Linked DNA regions of Homo sapiens: region 2 is linked to region 1. Evidence: promoter capture Hi-C in 16 types of primary human blood cells and fetal thymus (Javierre and others, 2016). All regions are on one chromosome and are shown on one strand. The core of a region is centred on a gene start or on the middle of the fragment in contact, and the rest is flanking DNA. Distances in the headings are between cores, read along the strand shown.

What was found. The method cuts DNA at HindIII sites, captures the fragments that hold promoters and counts their contacts. A CHiCAGO score of 5 or more calls a contact.
Region 2: a fragment that was not itself captured here is called in contact with the fragment with the promoter of CUBN in region 1 in 3 of 17 cell types (activated CD4 T cells, M0 macrophages and M1 macrophages); the score reaches 8.3 in activated CD4 T cells.

The regions. Positions count from the first base shown.
Region 1 is chr10:17,127,692-17,131,465 of GRCh38, reverse strand. It overlaps CUBN (cubilin), which reads left to right and starts at 1,655. Exons shown (of 67, transcript NM_001081.4): 1 at 1,655-1,822; 2 at 2,216-2,345; 3 at 3,542-3,637. The coding sequence starts at 1,701. The HindIII fragment of the contact is 5,551 bases long and covers 1-3,774 here.
Region 2 is chr10:16,998,311-17,002,084 of GRCh38, reverse strand. The region is part of intron 28 of CUBN (cubilin); the gene reads left to right. Among named protein-coding and RNA genes, the nearest start is that of CUBN, 130 kb to the left of the region's middle. The HindIII fragment of the contact is 1,608 bases long and covers 819-2,426 here.

The DNA of each region.
Region 1 (3,774 bases), core at 406-2,905:
ATTACAAAAGCATTATGTTGAGTGAAAGAAGCAGATACAAGAGACATATAGAAGAAATTGGGAAGGTTTAAAAAAAATTTTTAAAAGCAGTGACTATTTGAGTATCACAAGTAAAGTTTTTTTTTGTTTTGTTTTGTTTTTGAGACGGCATCTCGCTCTGTCCCCCAGGCTGGAGTGCAGTGGCATGATCTCAGCTCACTGCAAGCTCCGCCTCCCGGGTTCACGCCATTCTCCTGCCTCAGCCTCCCGAGTAGCTGGGACTACAGGCGCCCGCCACTAAGCCCGGCTAATTTTTTGTATTTGTAGTAGAGACGGGGTTTCACCACGTTAGCCAGGATGTTCTCGATCTCCTGACCTCGTGATCCGCCCGCCTCGGCCTCCCAAAGTGCTGGGATTACAGGCGTGAGCCACCGCGCCCGGCATAAGTAAAGAATTATAAGCTATGGTACATAATGATCCTCTCCTCAAAGAGCCTACATAAGTAAGACACAAAATAAGTAAAACACAAACAGGCTTGTCCTGAAAGAGCCTGCATGGGTATTAACCAATGCAATGGTAATTACCTAGAGATTTTTCTTAGAAGTGAAATTTTTACAGCTCTCCCTCAAATTCAGTTTTGTCTGTGTGCTCATGGAAAGTCTGAGTGCATCAATAGTTGATTTTACAATCGAAATGTAGAATATTTTCATCACTCTCAGTGGTTTCTGTAGTCCCAGCACAGAGTGAGTGGGGACATCAGTGCTCCATGTCCTCAAACCATATATCCAGCTGGAAGGGTGTATAGCGCAGTGTGGAAAGTGGGAATGGATTCCACAGCCGTCCATAGGTCCCACAGGGATGATAAAAAGTAAAAAGTACAAATTCTTTGTACATTCTGGATATTAACCCATTTTCATATATATATGATTTGCAAATATTTTCTTCCATTCTGGGAGTTGCTTTTTCACTCTGTTGATGTATTTTTTGATGCACAAACGTTTTTAATTTTGATGTATTCCAATTTATATCTTTTGGTTGTCTGTGTGTTTTTCTTTTTTTGCCCATGCTTTTGGTATCATACTCAAGAAATCATTGCCAAATCCAAAATCCAAGGTCATGAATTTTTGTCCTATTCTTCTGAGTTTTATGTTATAGTTTCAGATTTTTTGAACCATTGTGAGTTAATTTTATAGTTTTAGCTCTTAGATTTAGATCTTTGAACTTTTTTGAGTTAATTTTTGCATATGGTATGAGGTAAGCCTCCAACTTCTTTTGCATGTGGATATCTAGTTTTCCTAGCGCTGGGTAAAGGTGGAACTCCTCTGCAAGGGAGGTGAGGAAGGAGGGGAACAGAGAAAGGTGTAGATAATGACCAGTTTACTTTTGTTGAAACCTAGTTACTTCTTAAGCAAAGATTGTTTAAGTGGATGTTTTCAAAGCTGCTTGTTACTGTTTCAAAGGTCAAATAGATAATGATTAAGTTGCGCATCACTTAAGGTAGATTTTGACCTCTCACAAGTTGAAGAGTACTGAAGATCTAAGATCATTTACATCCCTCTGGAAGAAAAAATAACATAGCCTTCTAGGGCAAAGAAGAAAAAACTCAACAGTTACAGGATATTCCATGGTTCAAAGTACACCTGCCTGGTTTGCTGTTCTCCAAAATCCCATGCTCAGTTGGTTGGAGTGGCCTCACTCTTACCTGCCAACCTGGGAGGTTGATGATGAACATGTCTTTACCTTTTCTTTGGAGTTTGCTTACCTTATTAATATTTGCTGAAGTAAATGGCGAAGCTGGAGAACTTGAGCTGCAGAGACAAAAAAGAAGCATCAATCTCCAACAGTAAGTAAACACATGGGTCATTCCTGCTCAGGGACTAGGCTAATTCCTCACCAGTTTTCCCAAATAGCCAGATAAACAAAGGTGCAATTTTTCTTGAGGAAAATTATGTTGAGAAGCAAACAGGGAAAAACATTTAGACTGAGGTATGAAATTACTTTCCTATGCACAAATTATTATCTGTCATTTTGCAAATAATCTGTTTGCAATTGCCAGGAGGTATCTCTGAGAAATGTGCAGAGAAAAAAGTGGCAGATGAGCAGGGGCAGTTGGGTTGAGATGATCAAAAAGTGAAGATGTATTTGGCCTGTAGTTATTCAGTAAGAAACTTTGTTATTTTGGTTTAAAAATTGTACTTGCTAATTACTGATGCATTCTCTCGTTTGAATTATATAGGCCTCGAATGGCTACAGAGAGAGGAAATTTGGTGTTTCTTACGGGGTCTGCTCAAAACATTGAGTTTAGAACCGGATCCCTGGGAAAAATTAAATTAAATGATGAAGATCTCAGTGAGTGTTTACATCAGGTAATACACTGGAAATATATTGAAGTCATTTTGTATATCCATATACGGTGACTTAATTGAACAAGTCTAGATTAATCTGTACCTTGAATCTTTTTTAATTATTATTTTTTATTAATACATAATTTGATACATTCCTATAATGTGTAAAGTTCAAATCAGGGTAATTGGGATATCCATCACCTTAAATATTTACCTTTTCTTCATGCTAAGAACATATGAATTGTTCTCTTCTAGTTATTTTGAAATGTACAATAGATTAATGTTAACTATAGTCACCCTACTGGTCTATCAAACACTAGGTCTTATTTCTTCTATCTAACTATATATTGTATTCATTAATCAACCTGTCTTCAGCCTCCCTCCCCCTTCCTAGTGTACCTTGAATCTTTAGCATAGAGAACATAATTGGGCATCAGACATGTTCTTGTAAAGGACGATGGCCTGGGGTTAATAGTGGGTAGAGGGAGTATGCTAAAAGATAGAAGCTCATTGTGCCAGACAATGCACCCTAGTCCAGAGAAGGCACGGAGGGTGGAACTGAAACTCCTCCACAGGGGATGCGAGGAAGTAGGGGACCAAGGATATGTGGACATGTGACCAGTTTGCTTTTGCCACAGAACAGAATTGGCCAGTTATTCTCCTGCCTTACTGGGTGTTTTCATTTCCCAATAATCACTGCATATTTCAGTCATAATGTTAGAAGTCAGCATTATTCAGAGCTTACTGTGGGCCATCCACTGTGCTTAGCACCGTATGGATGTTATCTCATTTGACCTTCACAGCTGTCCTATGAGGTGGCCTTTATTGTCACCCTAGTTTTACAAGAGGTAAAGAAACCCTGAAGCAGTTAGGTAACTTGCCCAGGACAGCAATAAATAGCTGAGCCAGGACTTAAAACCTAAACAGTCTGCTTCCAAGCCAGGTTTCTTAATAAGCACCCTAAACTGGTATTATAGGAAAACATACAAATGGAAAATACCTTGATCTATTGTTACTGAAAAGGATAAGTGGAATTATGCTGTGGCTATTTTAGCCCAGTGTTTATTACGCATGGTGTTGTTTTGGTTTTTATAATAATAGGCAAGATCTTAGTGCTTAAAGTAGAATACTACTCAAGTTTTTAATTATGTTACTGTAAAGATAAATATGATATTTTCACTAGTGCTCTTCATTTCTTCTTCTTTTTCTAAAATTAGATCCAGAAAAACAAAGAAGATATTATAGAGTTAAAAGGGAGTGCAATTGGTCTGCCTCAAAATATATCTAGTCAAATCTATCAGCTTAATTCCAAGGTAAGTCTGACATCTACGTCATAAGAACCGATGAGTTCTCCCTAGTTCTATTGTATAAGTAACCGTTTTGTAGGGGATATACCAACTTTGTGTGCTCTTTAGAGATTTAGCATGTAACTACTCACTGTTTGGTTAAA
Region 2 (3,774 bases), core at 373-2,872, 130 kb after region 1:
ACATTACATATCCAAGGACTTGTTTTGTGTGAATGCACTGTGTACTCAGAGGAACAGAGGAAGCAGTGCCAGGTGGCAGCAGCATTGTCTCACAAACAGAACAAATCTGGTGGAGGACAGTAACTACCACTTATAAGAGTTAGTAGAATTTGATAATCTGTAGATCAGTAATGACAATAATATACTCTGTCCCTGATTTTTTTCTCCTCCTAGTTCCACAGGCTACTCAAATATAGACTATTTTGACCCTGTGTACCAAAATAATGAAATTGAAGGAATGCAGGATAAATAATATAGATTTTACCACCTAAATGTAATCTTAAATTTGTCTGAAGATATTATGATAAAAATAAACTATCTTGCCATGTAAAGAGTGAATGAAAATATGATTAAACGCTTAGTGCATTGGTTTAATTGACATCTCATTCACTATTACTGTTGTTGATGTTATCATTTTAAAACATGACTCAACATGTGTAATTTAAAAATATGATCTTGAGAAGTGAAGCCAGCTGGACTTCCTGGGTCCAGTGGGGACTCGGAGAACTTTTCTGTCTAGCTTGAAGCATTGTAAATGCGCCAGTCGGCGCTCTGTGGCTAGCTAAAAGTTTGTAAATGCACCAATCAGCACTCTGTAAAAACAGACCAATCAGCACCCTGTAAAACGGACCAATCAGCACTCTGTAAAGTGGACCAACCAGCGCTCTGTAAAATGGACCAATCAGCAGGATGTGGGCGGGGCCAAATAAGGGAATAAAAGCTGGCCTCCTGCGCACCAGTGGCAATCCACTGGGGTTGCCCTGCACGCTGTGGAAGCTTTGTTCTTTTGCTCTTCACAATAAATCTTGCTGCTGCTCACTCTTTGGGTCCGCACTACGTTTATGAGCTGTAACACTCACTCCAAAGGTCTCCACCTTCACTCCTGAAGCCAGCGAGACCAGAAACCCACCGGGAAGAATGAACAACTCTGCACACACCACCTTTAAGAGCTGTAACACTCACTGTGAAGGTCTGCAGCTTGACACCTGAAGTCAGCAAGATCACGAACGCACCAGAAGGAAGAAACTCCGGACACATCTGAACATTTGAAGGAGCAAACTCCGGACACACCATCTTTAAGAACTGTAACACTCACTGTTCAGGTCCGTGGCTTCATTCTTGAAGTCAGCGAGACCAAGAACCCACCGGAAGAAACCAATTCCGAACACAATCTCATGTCTCATCCCAATAATTTTCTTAAATGAGCATTATCATTCCCTTATTATGGATGAGAAAACTGAGGAAGAAGCCTGAGACAAGTTAAGTGATGTGTCCAAACTTACACATCCACTAAGCAATGGAATCAGAACACAAAACTCAGTGTGTGATGTCAAACTCAAAGGCCGTGCAATAAGTAGCACGATGGTGCCTGAAAGCAAATATTTTTTCCCCACAGCTTTTCATTGCAAAAAAAGGTCAAATGATATTGCAATGCAAAGAAGGTCAGAGCTTATAGTAGGTAATTTTATAAATTCCCGTAATAATAAATGTTTTTAAAAAGATGTGTGCAATCTTACCCAAGTAAATGGTGATCCAGTTTCAAAGGCTTCCCACTAAGTGACACAATTCATTCTTTCTTTAGGTTCAAGTAGCAATAATATGTGGGTTGGGGCGGAGGGGCGCATTGCTAGGCAAAAGACAAGTTCGAAATAGCTGATGTTATTTGCAATCCTTAAACACAATTTCTGCTTTATTACTCATTTATAAAGTGCTGTTCTGGAGCTGCTATATATGTTGCTGATGGAATCCACCGATCTGGGAGAAACCACGGAGATCATCTGGTCAGTTGCCAAGGTTTAGTTATACAAACTCGCTTACAAGAGGGAGAAGTTATATTAAAGTGAAGAGTAAAAGGGTAGCTGCTCCCAGAACAACTTGGCCGGGCTAGAGTGGACCATGGGAATGGGGTGGAGCATGTGAGGATTTGGGTAATTTAGTTGTTTTTCTTCCCCTAAGCTAAGGACCCAGGCTGGCTGGATGCAGGATTTGCCCTGCGAGGGGCCTGCAGCATGGGATGTTGTAATCAGAGAAAACAACCTTGAGGCTCAGATTTGGACAGAGTTTAAAGGGTCACAGAACACCACTGCCATGGACGTGGTGCTGCCCACCTGTGTCCATTTCTCCGGGTGGAGTCCTCTCCCTGCAGAGGGAAGGTTAGAGGTTGGAGGAGGTGAGGGAAGGAATCAGGGAGAGGCCTGCAATGTAGGTCCCTGGAGGCTCTTTGAGCTTTTCCCTGCAAGAGCCCTGTGTACCAAAATAATGAAATTGAAGGAATGCAGGTTTGAATAATATTTCTAAATAGAAGTATGACTGTTGAACTTGGAAACTGCCTACAGAGAACATGTTTTCTCTGTCTTTGTTTGTTTGAGGGATTTCATAAAGAAGCTTTCAGTAGCCTTAGGCATGACTGCTTATTTCAGGGAAGGTTAGTACAGTTATCTTAGTCTCATTTCTTTCCTTGTACCTTTTTATACTAAACTTTGTTTAGAAGTCTTCAATCATTTCAAAAACATCCAAGGAGAGGGAAAAGAGATTGATCAAATGATTGATTTCTCCTGAAGAATTGTAAGCAAGGGATTTCTACTGGGAAACCATTTTTTAATTTGATTGAAATTAGTAGCTTAAAAGGAAACTGATAAAGTTAATCAAAGTGAAAAGATGACAAGATTGGCTAACTTCTCTAGGTTAAGACGAAAGATAGTATCCTTTTGTATACAGGAAATTAAAATTTATATTACACAGAAACTCCAAAATTATGGCTTCTTTGGATTTCTTTCTCTTTGATGATGTACTAAAGGGAAACACATCAGTATTTAGATCTAGGCCATCTTAGATAGTCAGATGGCTATGACAGTCTTAACTTTGAGTATTTATATGACATCTTGAATAGGAATGTAAAGGTCATTATATAGCGGTCCACAGCATTGATTTCTAAGCTTCTTGTATCTGTTTTCCAAGTCACTGACTTCATGCAATAACTTATTCTTTCACTGTTTTTTATTGTATCTCTACCATTGAAACCCGATGCTCTACTTTATATCCACTGCTGTATAGAAATTAGTCGAATAAAATGGATTATCACAAAATATGGGGCAAGGATGAAGTCTCCATGGAACATGAAACTTTCTAAACGTTCATTGACTCTCCAACACTAAAAATCGTTATGACTTAACTCCCTGGTTCTTGGGTTTACCTGTTTCTTCCTGATGTGATACCTGGCCCTGTATTTGCTGCTAGTTTTCTCAACAATAGACCTTTTCTGTTTTCATGAAAATCTTACCCTTGACCAACCATCCTCTAAACCTCAAGATGACAAATAGGAAGTAATAATTACAAGATGGAATACAGAAAGTTTACAAATGTGCACTCCTTGAATACCACACAAATAGTTGTTACCATTTTGTACCTACCTGGGAGTTTGGCCACCTCAATTATCAGGGAAAGAATGAGGATACATTAGCTTCTTAGGGCTACTGTAACTAAGTACCACAAACTGGGTGGCATGGGACAACAGAAATTTGTTCTCTTTATTCTGGAGGCTGGAATTCCAAAGTCAAGGTGTTGGCAGGGTCATCCCTCTGACGGCTCTAGGGAAGACCCTTCCTTGCTGCTTCTAGCTTCTGTTGATTGATGGCTGTCTTTGGCTTTCTAAGCCTTGTAGATGCATAACTCCAATTTCTGCCTCTATCCACACATGACCTTCTTCCTTCTTGGTGTCTGGGACCAAATTTCCCT